4 separate regions of the Homo sapiens genome follow, and regions 1, 2 and 4 are each linked to region 3. The links are contacts of gene promoters, found by promoter capture Hi-C in human tissues and cell types (Jung and others, 2019). All regions are on one chromosome and are shown on one strand. Each heading gives the region's core, a stretch centred on a gene start or on the middle of the fragment in contact. The rest is flanking DNA. Distances are from core to core; before and after follow the strand shown.

Region 1 (2,801 bases), core at 168-2,667, 1.5 Mb before region 3:
CATGGTGAAACCCTGTCTCTACTAAAAATACAAAAATTGGCCAGCCATGGTGGCACACGCCTGTAATCCCAGCTACTCGGGAGGCTGAGGCAGGAGAATCGCTTGAACCCTGGCAGCGAAGGTTGCAGTGAGCTGAGATCGCGCCACTGCACTCCAGCCTGGCGACAGAGCGAGACTCCATCTTAAAAAAAAAAAAAAAGAAACATCATTTCTCTTTTCTTTTTCATTCAGGGTCTGGCTCCGTCTCAGTAACTCCTTGGGGAAAGCGATGGAGAAGGGCTCGCTCACGCAGCACTTCTGGCAGTCCCTGAAGGACCACTACCTCAAGTCTCCCAGGCTGGAGTGCAGTGGCACGACTTCAGCACACTGCAACCTCCGCCTCCTGGGTTAAAGCGATTCTCCTGCCTCAGTCTCCCGAGTAGCTGGGATAACAAGTGCGCGCCACGGGGATTAAGCCCTCTCGTATGCCTCTGGAATGGTACTATGTACCATCTTCCTAGCAATGATAAAACACTCAATTACCTGTGTTCTGTGGTTCAAATGGGGAACGCTAATGAGAATATAAGACAGCCAGTTAAAGGGTGGCTAATCCTGACTTATCTATGTTAACCTACATACTCCAGGGATTTGGGAGTGGTTAACAAAGATATCAGGCTGAATTAAGATGGTCTCTACTGTTAGACGTTGATCACTTAATACTCACAGGTATCTACTGAATAACCCATACGGGTAGATGCATGACAGTTTTAGAACTGATCCCTTTTAATACATAACGTTCAGAATGACCTTAGTGAGGCCCAGAAAATTTTGAAGGTCTTTCTGAAAAGCTAGGGTATTTAACATTTCTCCAACTTCCACGTTTACTGAGTGGCTCAACAAAAGAATGCATTTCTCAGAAAGGAGGATGAAGCTAAGCAGGAAGTTTCGCTTTTCTTTTCTGATAACTCTTAGTTCTCGTCCTAGTTCCTCCTCCACAGTCTCTTAACTCTAGGAGTATGATAGGGAGCATCCCGCCGGTGCCAGCTGGGAACGGGGAGCCGGCGTGCCCGGGGTATCCCGGGGTACGTGGTCTGCAGGGCGCAGCCACCACGTCTCAGCATGTGCGTACCCACGAGAGCCGGCAAGAAGGCCCCGGCACAGCAGCCTTGGTGGGAACCTCGCGGCGCTTCCCAGCCCAGACTCTCCTACCGCAAAGGCTTTAAAGACTCGCAGCGACACTCACTTCTTGCTCAGTTTCGGCTCGCTGCCATCCACTTTCACCTCGGCCGCCTGCACGGCCGCCATCTTCCCGGAGGGCCCGACCCAAAAGTAAGGAGGATAGTACGTTAATTTCCAGGTCAAGGTGCGAAGCCCCACCTCTTCCGGGGGAGAGGGGGCGGGCACTCTCGATGCGCCGCGGCTGCTGCTGCGCAGGCCCAGTGCTGCGCTTCGCGGCAGAGGCGTCTGCGGTGACAGCTCAGTCAGTTGAGCTCTGTGTGCCAGGCGCTCGCGAGGGGGTAGCTCTTCTAGTAGTGCTCGGCGTCAGACATGGCGGAGGCGATGGATTTGGGCAAAGACCCCAACGGGCCCACCCATTCCTCGACTCTGTTCGTGAGGGACGACGGCAGCTCCATGTCCTTCTACGTGCGGCCCAGCCCGGCCAAGCGTCGGCTGTCGACGCTCATCCTGCACGGCGGCGGCACCGTGTGCCGAGTGCAGGAGCCCGGGGCCGTGCTGCTGGCCCAGCCCGGGGAGGCGCTGGCCGAGGCCTCGGGTGATTTCATCTCCACGCAGTACATCCTGGACTGCGTGGAGCGCAACGAGAGGCTGGAGCTGGAGGCCTATCGGCTGGGCCCCGCCTCGGCGGCGGACACCGGCTCGGAAGCAAAGCCCGGGGCCCTGGCCGAGGGCGCCGCGGAGCCGGAGCCGCAGCGGCACGCCGGGCGGATCGCCTTCACGGATGCGGACGACGTAGCCATCCTTACCTACGTGAAGGAAAATGCCCGCTCGCCCAGCTCCGTCACCGGTAACGCCTTGTGGAAAGCGATGGAGAAGAGCTCGCTCACGCAGCACTCGTGGCAGTCCCTGAAGGACCGCTACCTCAAGCACCTGCGGGGCCAGGAGCATAAGTACCTGCTGGGGGACGCGCCGGTGAGCCCCTCCTCCCAGAAGCTCAAGCGGAAGGCGGAGGAGGACCCGGAGGCCGCGGATAGCGGGGGTGAGGAGGCTGAGCGCGGGGCCTCGCGGATATCTGCGCGGGTGGGGTTGGGATCTTTCTCCTGGCTGCCTGGCGTCCATCTTGGCATCTTCGGTAGCAGCGCTTGGCCCCGCCCCCTGTTGACATCCGGGTAAATTTGCACCATTTTCTTGCCTTCTCGCTCCCTTGTTGTTTATTATTGTTCTTTTTTTGCGATGGGTCTCTGTTACCTAAGCTGGTCTGAACTCCTGAGCTCAAGCGATCCTCCTGCCTCGGCCACCCAAAGTGTTGGGATTACAGGAGTGAGCCACCACGTCTGGCCTCTCGTCGTTTTTATTTTTTAATTTTTGAGTGGGGGCTCGCTCCGTCGCCCAGGCTGTGATGCAGCCGCGCGATCACGACCTACTGCATCCTGGACCTCCTGGGCTCAAGCGAATCTCCGGCTTCAGCCTCCCAAGTAGCTGGAACTACACTCCCGCGCCACCACGTCCCGCTAAATTAAAAAAAAAATTGTTGTAGAGATGGGGGTCTCGTTGTGTTGCCCTGACAGGTCTCGAACTCTTGGGCTCAAGCGATCCTCCCGTCTCGGTGTCCCAAAGTGTTGGGATTACAGGCGTGAGCCATC
Region 2 (2,912 bases), core at 11-2,510, 1.6 Mb before region 3:
TTGAGACCCAAGTATGGAATAAGAACCCGCACCCCGACCCCTGCCCTGCGCAGTGAGGATTCCCGCGTGCAGCCGAAGCCCCAGCAAGACACTTCCAAACCAGCGCTAGCAGGGGAGATGAACTTTCCACGTTGCTGATGGAAAAGCCACCCCCAGCTCTTCCCGCCAACCCAGGTCTCTGGTGCAGGACAGAGGAGCGTCACAGCTGGGCCACTGGCCCGGCCCCCAGCCCAACCGAGTGTGGGGACACCTCCGGTGGAGAATGAAGAACCAAAGTACCTCAAAGCTTGGCGTGTCTGCCAGAGCTGGAGCAGCAGCCAGAGGGACGCCTCTCCCCCTGGGCTCAGCAAAAGCTCCCAGACGTCGTCTCTTCCAAGTTCCACCGCACAGCCAGCTCTTTCTCTTCACTGGGAGGTTCCGCAGGGGCTGACTTGCTCCTTAAGGTCCCAAGACTATTAAGGGACACCCAGTGAGGCTGGGAAAGGGGCTCTAAGAGGCATGGACGAAGAGTCGGGGGTAACCAAGCCACTGGAAGCTCCTGGAGACTCGAGGCAGAGCGAATCTGGGAACAGGGCAGGAGTCCCAGAATGGGATGTTGAGGATGGGGGTGTCCTGGGGCTACCACAGGGAAGGACCCGGCGCAGAGCTCCCTCCGGAGCCCGGCACTGCGGCCCGCGCCCTCTACTCCCCGCGCGCCGGCCAACAACCCTCGGCGCTGCCCCGCAATCTTCAGCGCTGCCTGGTGAGGAGCTTTCAGACGTGGCTGCGGTCCCAGGGTGGCCGGCGGGAGCCAGGGAAATGGGAGAAGGAAGGAAGGAGCAGGTTTTGCCCCCAGCTCCCTCTCCCCACCCCCGACCGAGGGGCCATGTCTCGGGGAGGGGCGCTGGCCGAGGGCAGAGCAGGAGGGCCCAGGTGGGCTGGGGCTCTAAGAGGCGCACCTTTTAGCCGGGGATGTCAAAGGACGCTGGCAGAGTCACTTCTCATCTAACTGACCACAAATGAACGTTGTAACCCTTCCTCACCCCCCCAATCGCCAGAGAACCTGGGAGCTCCTGGGAGGACAAAGGCCCTAGTGAAGGAAGTCGAATCTTAATCTTGGCCCTCCTCGCTCTTGGGGGCATCCTTGCAGCCAAGGGACTTGGAATCCAAACCCTTCCCAAGGCCCCAACCTCAGCCCTAAGCCAAGACCCAGGCACCTTGATGACACAGGAATCCGTGCTGCCTCCCGGTGCAGTGTCCCAGCTGGGAGGAGTTGAAAGACCAGGTGGCCTTAGGAGCTGTGCCCTCCCTGCCCTAGCCTCCGCCCAGAGGCGCAGGCTTGATAACATGTTCCAATGAATACAGGATATGTTTCAGTAAATAAAAGCTCCCCACCCACCCCTTACAAATAACAGCTCAGCCTGGCCTGGTGGCATATGACTGTAATCCCGGCACTTTGGGAGGCAAGGCAGGCAGATCACTTGAGGTCAGGAGTTCAAGACCAGCCTGGTCAACGTGGCAAAACCCCATCTCTACTGAAAATACAAAATTTAGCCGCGCATGGTAGCACATGCCTGTAATCCCAGCTACTAGGTAGGCTGAGACAGGAGAATAGCTTGAACCCCGGAGGTGGAGGCTGCAGTGAGCGGAGATGGGGCCATTGCACTCCAGACTGGGTGACAAAGCGAGACTCCATCTCAAAAACAAAGAAACAAACGGGCAGAGTCCAGTAATCTGAAAAGGATAGAGCATTGGGAGGTCCTTTAATCCATGGTGGTATCTGAAACGAGGAGTCCCTGCTGCTGGGAGTAGAAATTAGCAGTCTTTCCTGGCTGTGGTTTGGCAATGAATTAAGATCCTTAACAATGGTCATAAGTTTTCTGAATGTATCTTAAGGAAATAAACCAGCAACAATGATTTCTACACAAGGTTTATAAAAGTGTTGTTTGTGATACTAAAAAGGTTACATACAACAAAAAAGATTAGAAAGATGTGTGCCAGAATGCCAACCATAATAACTTCTGTGATCAAACTGCTGTGATCCCAGCACTTTGGGTGGCCAAAGCGGATGGATCACTTGAGGTCAGGAGTTCGAGACCAGCCTGACCACCAGGGTGAAGCCCTGTCTCTACTAAAAACACAAAAATTAGCCGGGCATGGTGGTGGGCACCCGTAATCCCAGCTACTCGGGAGGGTAAGGCAGGAGAATCACTTGAACCTGGGAGGTAGAGGCTGCAATGAGCTGAGATCATGCTGCTGCACTCCAGCCTGGGTAACAGAGTGAGACTCTGTCTCAAAAAAAAAAAAAAAAAAGAAAAAGAAAAAGAAAAGAAAAACCACCTACTGGGTACTATGCTTATTACGTGGGTGATGAAATAATCTGTACACCAAACCCCCAGGTTGTACAATTTAGCTATATACGAAACCCATACATATACCCCATGAGTCTACAATAAAAGTTGGAAGGAAAAAAAAAAAAGAAATAATTGCTTTATTAGCCTTACATGATGGAATATTAGGGGGGCCTCATCTGACTTAAGCCGAAACTGTACTAATCATTTGGCAAAATCAGGAGTCTTTCTGCCTCCAAATATTCAGTAATAACATCAAACCTTAACTTAGCTATGGGTCGGAGCTGAGTTAATAAAATCCTCTATATTTCTTTTTTTTTTTTTTTTTGAGACGGAGTCTAGCTCTGTTGCCAGGCTGGAGTGCAGTGGCGCAATCTCGGCTCACTGCAACCTCCGCCTCCAGGGTTCAAGCGATTCTCCTGCCTCAGCCTACTAAATAGTTGGGATGACAGGCACGTGTCGCCACACCCAGCCAATTTTTGTATTTTTAGTGGAGATGGGGTTTCACCATGTTGGCCAGGATGGTCTCGATCTCCTGACCTTGTGATTCACCCACCTCGGCCTCCCAAAGTGCTGGGATTA
Region 3 (3,169 bases), core at 399-2,898:
TTTGAGTTGTCAAATAATTTCTATTGTTATGCAGAAAATCCTAGTAGAAACCATAAAATGCTACTTAATAGTCATTCAAGCTTTTTATAAAATAGTTTTCAAAGTAAATTGTTTCCTTTATGGGTTTTAATGACGAGAAGGATGAGATTAACCACAGGACTCTGGAGAGAGGTACAGATTTGGGGGATTTACATGGGGGTGGACTGATATCACAATGATCCCTAATTTTCTATATTCACCAGGCAGATGAGCTGGTCTCAGAAATACTCAAGTCTCAAAATCTTTGGAACATATGCTTCCATATCAGGTACATGGGTTTTTTCTGCCATCTAGTGGCCACCTTTGATAAAGACAGTCATCTTTATGTGAGCAAAGGTTTCCCACCTAGAGCACTACATAGGAAACTCCCAGGCTCCCAGGCATCTTTTTCAGTTTACACTTTTCAGGGAGTTCCCCTAAAATTGCCTCTGAAATTGGAATAAAAGCAAAGGTCCTAGTCCTCAGGGAGGCACAAAGCTAGGATAAGTTGTTAGAATAGCACTAGCTGAGCCACTGATTCTCTGGGTGGCTGCCAGCTAAGTCTCTTTTCCTTCCCCAACCTGTTTTCTCATCTATAAGATAAATCACACTGGCGGGTCCCTGTTAGCTCTAATACTCTGGTGTTCTGAGTCCCTCCAATTTTAAATCTTTATTTGGACAAGCATGTCTATACTTGCCTCATTAATTAAAGTAAATCGAGGAGAAATTATAACATCTAGACAACGAAGTTGCTATTCCCTAGGACAACTCAGCGATAAGGTAGTTGAGTATCATGTTTCTGACATCATCTTCCTCTTGGGGAAGGTTTTCCTTTTCAATTTCCTTGTAGAGACTGTATGAATCATGGCTTCATTTATCCTAAAGTCCATAAGTAAAATGCAGATTATCAATGAGCAAGTTGTTTATTTCAAATATGTAGATACTCCTTGACAAATTCTCAAAAGGTTTTATCGCACTGATAATGGACAGTAATCTATTTGATGGGGTTTATTTAAATCGCAATTTTCTATTCTCCGTGCCACAGAAATGGCTTAAGTCCTCCCAAGCTTTTATTCGAAGGACTGACATATTCTCATTAGCATCCCACCTGCTTCTAAAATCTCTTTCCTTTCATCGTTATTCCATCCAAAAATCAGGAGAGAATAATCTTTTTCATTCTTCTTTTTAATTGACAAATAAAAATTATATATATTGATGGTGTCCAACATGCTGTTTTGATATATGTATAGATATTGTGAAATGGCTAAATCAAGCTAATTAAATATGCATTACCTTCACATACTTAACATTTCTTTTTTTTTTTTTTTTTGCAATACAAACACTTAAAATCTACTCTCTTAGCAATTTTCAAGTTTGCCATACTTCTACCCAAAGATTCCACTGGCTTCCTGCCACCATCCTTCAGTCTAAAACTGTATCATGCTGTTCCTGGCATTCTTTGATCAGGGCCTATGAGAGAAATTTATTTCCTGCTTCCTGGGCATTCAGATTCCCAGCAGCTGCAACAACCTGAACTTCCTTTGGACAATTACTCCTTATGATGACTTGAGTGATCTTGGCCTCACTTTCAAGCCCAGGGTGAACCTTCATTGCCTTGGCCCATTCTAAATGAATCATTTCCTGGCCATAGTGATTGGTTCTGGCATGGACACATATCTAACCAGAGTCAATGAGATTTCCACTGAGACTTCTGAGAAATAGATTCTCTCCCATCCCTTCTGGACTTAAAGCAAGACATATGTAGCCACAGAAGCAGCTAGAGCCCTCTTGAGACCTGGAGGGAGAAACTGCTAGAAAATGGAGTATACATCAAGGAAGAAGAGGAAGGAATGAAGAAAGAAACTGAATCTTGGCCACATCATTGGAGCCCTGGATCAACCCTCACCTGAAGATTGCCCTCACCTTCTTTTCAACTCACCAATGAAGTGTTTTCATTGTTTAAGGCAGTTCAAGTTGGGTTTTCTGCAATTTAAAATAATAATAATACTAATAAAATCTATAGCTCATGTGGGTTCCAAGCAACCTTTCCATGTGTTTCACCTTAGTTTTCATAGATGCTTTTCTTCCAGTTTTGCCAAACTAATGGAGAATACTCAGGCAGAAGAGACAGTGTGGTTTACTCTAAGAACTCATCCAAGTTCTGAGAGTACTGAGTTGATCATTAATAATTGGACCTAGGTATGTGGGAGAAGGCAGAGACAAGGGTGACCCCAAGGTGAGGGACATAAGTCACTGTGGGACTAACTTCTGGTAACATTAAGAGAAGAAACAAGTTTGGGAAAAGGAGATGAGTTTCCATTTGGAACAACTTGAATTTAAGTAGACTTATCCTTTTGAGCTGCAAACGTTGACCTGTCTGCATCCTCCAGAAAACTGGAAGTTTGTTAAGGGCAGGGACTGTGGGCTCTAAATCTTCAATCATCTCCCACAGGACCCCAATAAATATGTATTCTAATAATAAGAAAATAAAATCAATGAAATATAAGTTACCCAAAAATAATTAGAGAACAGTGAAGTCCCAGTCTCCTCTTTGGGCCTGATGATTACGTCTGTCAAATGTTCAGAAAAATTCTGAGATGCCTGCTGGAGAGAACGAGTTCTGTCAGTAGAGGAGGCAGCATTGAAGCTGTACTTGTAATATTTATTTGGAAGGAGAGGAGTACCCCATCCCGGAGGAAGGGCTTGAGCAAAGGCACTCCTGCTCCCTATCTGACTGGGGAATACCACTTGTAGGGTACAGAATCATACCATTATTTCAGAAAACTGAGGAGAGAGCTGGAGTAATACTACCAGTAAGAGATCCCACTTCACCTGACAATGACCCATCAGAGTGGTCAGAGAATCAGAGGCTACACAGAAGGGACTGTGCTTGGAGAAATAGGTCACAGATAATTAAACAAAAGAAGAATTTTTGTTTGTTTGTCTTTGAGACGGAGTTTTGCTCTTACGCCCAGGCTGGAGTGCAGTGGCCAGCGATCTCAGCTCACTGCAAACTCTGCCTGCTGGTTTCAAGCAATTCTCCTTCCTCAGCCTCCCGAGTAGCTGCGATTACAGGAGTCCACCACCACGCCCAGGTAATTTTCATATTTTTAGTAGAGACGGGGTTTCACCATGTTGGCCAGGCTGGTCT
Region 4 (2,956 bases), core at 264-2,763, 1.5 Mb before region 3:
TGCAGGGAAATCTCTCACTCTTGGCCCTATCAATGCTCACTAGGCACATCCTGATCTCATTTGGACTCAATTATACAAAAAGCTTCCCAGTAGAAGATGAGCTTGTGATAGACATAGCTAAGCACTGTAAAACCAAACTGAAGGCCGGGCGCGGTGGCTCACCTGAGGTCAGGAGTTCGAGGCCAGCCTGGCCAACGTGGTGAAACCCTGTCTCTACTGAAAATACAAAAAAATTAGCCGGGCGTGATGGCGCGTGCCTGTAGTCCCAGCTACTCGGGAGGCTGAGGCAGGAGAATCGCTTGAACCCGGGAGGCGGAGGTCGCAATGAGCCGAGATTGTGCCACTGCACTCCAGGCTGGGTGACAGAGCGAGACTCCCTCTCAAAAAAACAAAAAAGGCTTTCCTGAGCTCCAGTGCATGCAGCTTTTGAAAGATGGTATTGTTATGAATCCCCTGCAGCGCAACGTGCAGGCTCGCTACTGTAGTGAATGCTACTGGTAAATCAGACCACAGTGATTTAAAACAAAAATCTGCAGGAAGTGAGACCCTGTGACTTGAAAGTCAGAGGGCCAGGGCAAGCCTTGTCAAGAAAAGAAAGCATGAGATCCTAGAATCCTCGTTTGGAAGGGACTCACCTCTCATTTCTAGGGAGGCATCACAAGGCAGTATAGTTTATGAAGACCACCTGGCCATCGACCTGAAATTAAACCAGAGGTGCAATTCACAAACCTCGATAGGCAAGGCAGGTAGAAGTTGCCAGAAGAAACAGTGACTCTCTTTAAGATGAAGCAGCCCAGAACGGCATCATCTCACTCAGGTAGTGCGTCTGAATGAGCATGCACAATTGTTTAAATGAATAAATGTTTTGCTACACTGGGTCCATTATAATTCGAGCCTACACCCCCTCCTAGATCTTGAAAACTTGAAGAACTTCTTAGCTGAAAATAACAGCTCAGCTAAACAGGCATTTATTTGCCCACAAGACCGCATCTCTGAACAGTTTCAACAAGCTAAAAAAACTGACGTCCTTTCCAAAGAAAAGGAAGTCGGCTGCCAGGGGAGAAAAGGCTTCAGCGATGCTTGGAGGAAGGGACTCTGGTTTACGCTGGCTCCCTTCCTAAACACTTCCGGAAGCAGAGCCCCTTCCCGGCCGCTGGAGAAGCCTGGGTGGGACCCCGAGTCGGCCAGTTACAGGATAGGAGGTGCCAGGCAAGGCACTGAAGCCATGCAGTGAGAACAGCGTGAGCGCCTGATCCATTGGGTCCTGCGGCTGCCAGGCCAGAGGCCCCGCGCCAGGAGCTCTTCAGGCGCCGGCTGCTGACAGTTCCAGGCGTGGAGCGCCTTCCCACGTGAAACGCGTCCCGGAAGATACGATCCTCACAACCTCTTCCCTCAAAAACAGACTCGGCAAAGTTAGCCCGGATAAACCTGCCCCGTCGCCCCAGCGCCTCGCGGACGCTCCCCTCCCACCTTCAGGAAACGCGCCTAGAAGAAAGCGAGCTTAATCCGCCGGTAAGGCGGACGTGACGTCACAAAGCGCCGGTTCCTTTCGGCTCCCGCTCCCAGAGGCGCGCAGTGCATGCCGGGCCCTGTAGTTTTTCCGGGGAGTCGGTGCCAGGGCCGAGATTCCCGCGCTTCAAGTCCCGCAGCCCTGGCTGCGTCTTAGAGAGGCGTGAAACCGGATGATGGGAGCCGCTTGTTGGCTTAGATATTCCTTCAACTAGAATGACGTATCTTGCAGCACTCGGCTGAATTTTTTTCTTTTTCTTTTTTTTTTTTGAGACGGAGTCTTGCTCTGTTGCTCAGGCTGGAGTGTAGAGGCGCGATCTCGGCTCACTGCAACCTTCGCCTCCCGGTTCAAGCGATTCTCCTGACTATGCTGTATTTCTATCTGTAACATCACTGTCCAATAGATATATAATTCGAACCATATACGTAATTTAAAAATTTCCAGTAGCCTCATTAAAAGTCAAAATAGAAACAATCATATATATTTTATTTAACCCATACATCCCAAATAGTATTATTTCAACATATAATCAAAAAATTTTTTGAGATGGAGTCTCGCTTTGTCGCCCAGGCTGGAAGCGGCGCAATTTCGGCGCACTGCAACCTCCGTCTCCTGGCTTCAAGCGATTCTCCTGCCTCAGCCTCCCAAGTAGCTGGGATTACAGGCGCCCGCCATCACACCCGGCTCATTTTTGTTATTTTTAGTAGAGACGGGGTTTCGCCATGTTACCAGGCTGGTCTCGAACTCCTGACCTCAAGTGATCCGCCCGCCTCAACCTCCCAGAGTGCTGGGATTACAGGCGTGAGTCACGATGCCCGGGGTCGGTCTGTCTGTCTCATATATATATATATATATATTTTTTTTTTTTTTTTTTTTTTTTTTGAGACGGAGTCTCGCTCTGTCACCCAGGCTGGAGTGCAGTGGCGCAATCTCTGCTCACTGCAAGCTCCGCCTCCCAGGTTCACGCCATTCTCCTGCCTCAGCCTCGCGAGTAGCTGGGACTACAGGTGCCTGCCACCACGTCAGGCTAATTTTTGTATTTTTAGTAGATACGGGGTTTCACCATGTTAGCCAGGATGGTCTCGATCTCCTGACCTCGTGATCTGCCCGCCTCGGCCTCCCAAAGTGCTGGATTACAGGCGTGAGCCACCGCACCTGGCTGCCGAGTCTCAATATTTTAAAAAATACTTATGTTCTGTTCTGTTTTTAATGCGAAGTTTAAGAAATCTGGTGTGTGTTACACTTAGAATACATCCCAATTTGGATCAGCCACATTTCAGATGCTGGATAGTCACATGTGGCTACTGGCTACTGTAGTACAGTACTACTACAGTGTAGTGGGCAGAACAGGTCTAAAAACCTTTGGATTGCCGGGAATAAGTAATATAGCTGCCTGGATACTTCAGGGGCCTTTGTCACCCAGTAACTGAATGCTCTATTACTAAA

The links. The method cuts DNA at HindIII sites, captures the fragments that hold promoters and counts their contacts. A contact is called where the count stands out against the background at its distance.
Region 1: the fragment with the promoter of TERF2IP here is called in contact with a fragment that was not itself captured in region 3 in 1 of the 25 tissues and cell types used here (dorsolateral prefrontal cortex).
Region 2: the fragment with the promoter of CHST5 here is called in contact with a fragment that was not itself captured in region 3 in 1 of the 25 tissues and cell types used here (lymphoblastoid cells).
Region 4: the fragment with the promoter of ADAT1 here is called in contact with a fragment that was not itself captured in region 3 in 1 of the 25 tissues and cell types used here (heart right ventricle).

The regions. Positions count from the first base shown.
Region 1 is chr16:75,646,356-75,649,156 of GRCh38, forward strand. It overlaps TERF2IP (TERF2 interacting protein), which reads left to right and starts at 1,418. Exons shown (of 3, transcript NM_018975.4): 1 at 1,418-2,197. The coding sequence starts at 1,528. It overlaps KARS1 (lysyl-tRNA synthetase 1), which reads right to left and starts at 1,310. Exons shown (of 14, transcript NM_005548.3): 1 at 1,223-1,310. The coding sequence starts at 1,284. RefSeq lists enhancers at 1,163-1,342, 1,382-2,339, 2,273-2,542, 2,340-2,801 and a silencer at 1,843-1,962. The HindIII fragment of the contact is 7,104 bases long and covers 1-2,801 here.
Region 2 is chr16:75,534,848-75,537,759 of GRCh38, forward strand. It overlaps CHST5 (carbohydrate sulfotransferase 5), which reads right to left and starts at 1,261. Exons shown (of 4, transcript NM_024533.5): 1 at 1,197-1,261; 2 at 280-562. TMEM231 (transmembrane protein 231) reads right to left here. Exons shown (of 7, transcript NM_001077418.3): 7 at 1,894-2,912. The HindIII fragment of the contact is 10,484 bases long and covers 1-2,912 here.
Region 3 is chr16:77,171,611-77,174,779 of GRCh38, forward strand. No RefSeq gene overlaps it. Among named protein-coding and RNA genes, the nearest start is that of MON1B, 18 kb to the right of the region's middle. The HindIII fragment of the contact is 5,474 bases long and covers 1-3,169 here.
Region 4 is chr16:75,621,768-75,624,723 of GRCh38, forward strand. It overlaps ADAT1 (adenosine deaminase tRNA specific 1), which reads right to left and starts at 1,514. Exons shown (of 10, transcript NM_001324445.2): 1 at 636-1,514. RefSeq lists enhancers at 1-267, 268-787, 788-1,307, 1,189-1,428, 1,308-1,827. The HindIII fragment of the contact is 9,595 bases long and covers 1-2,956 here.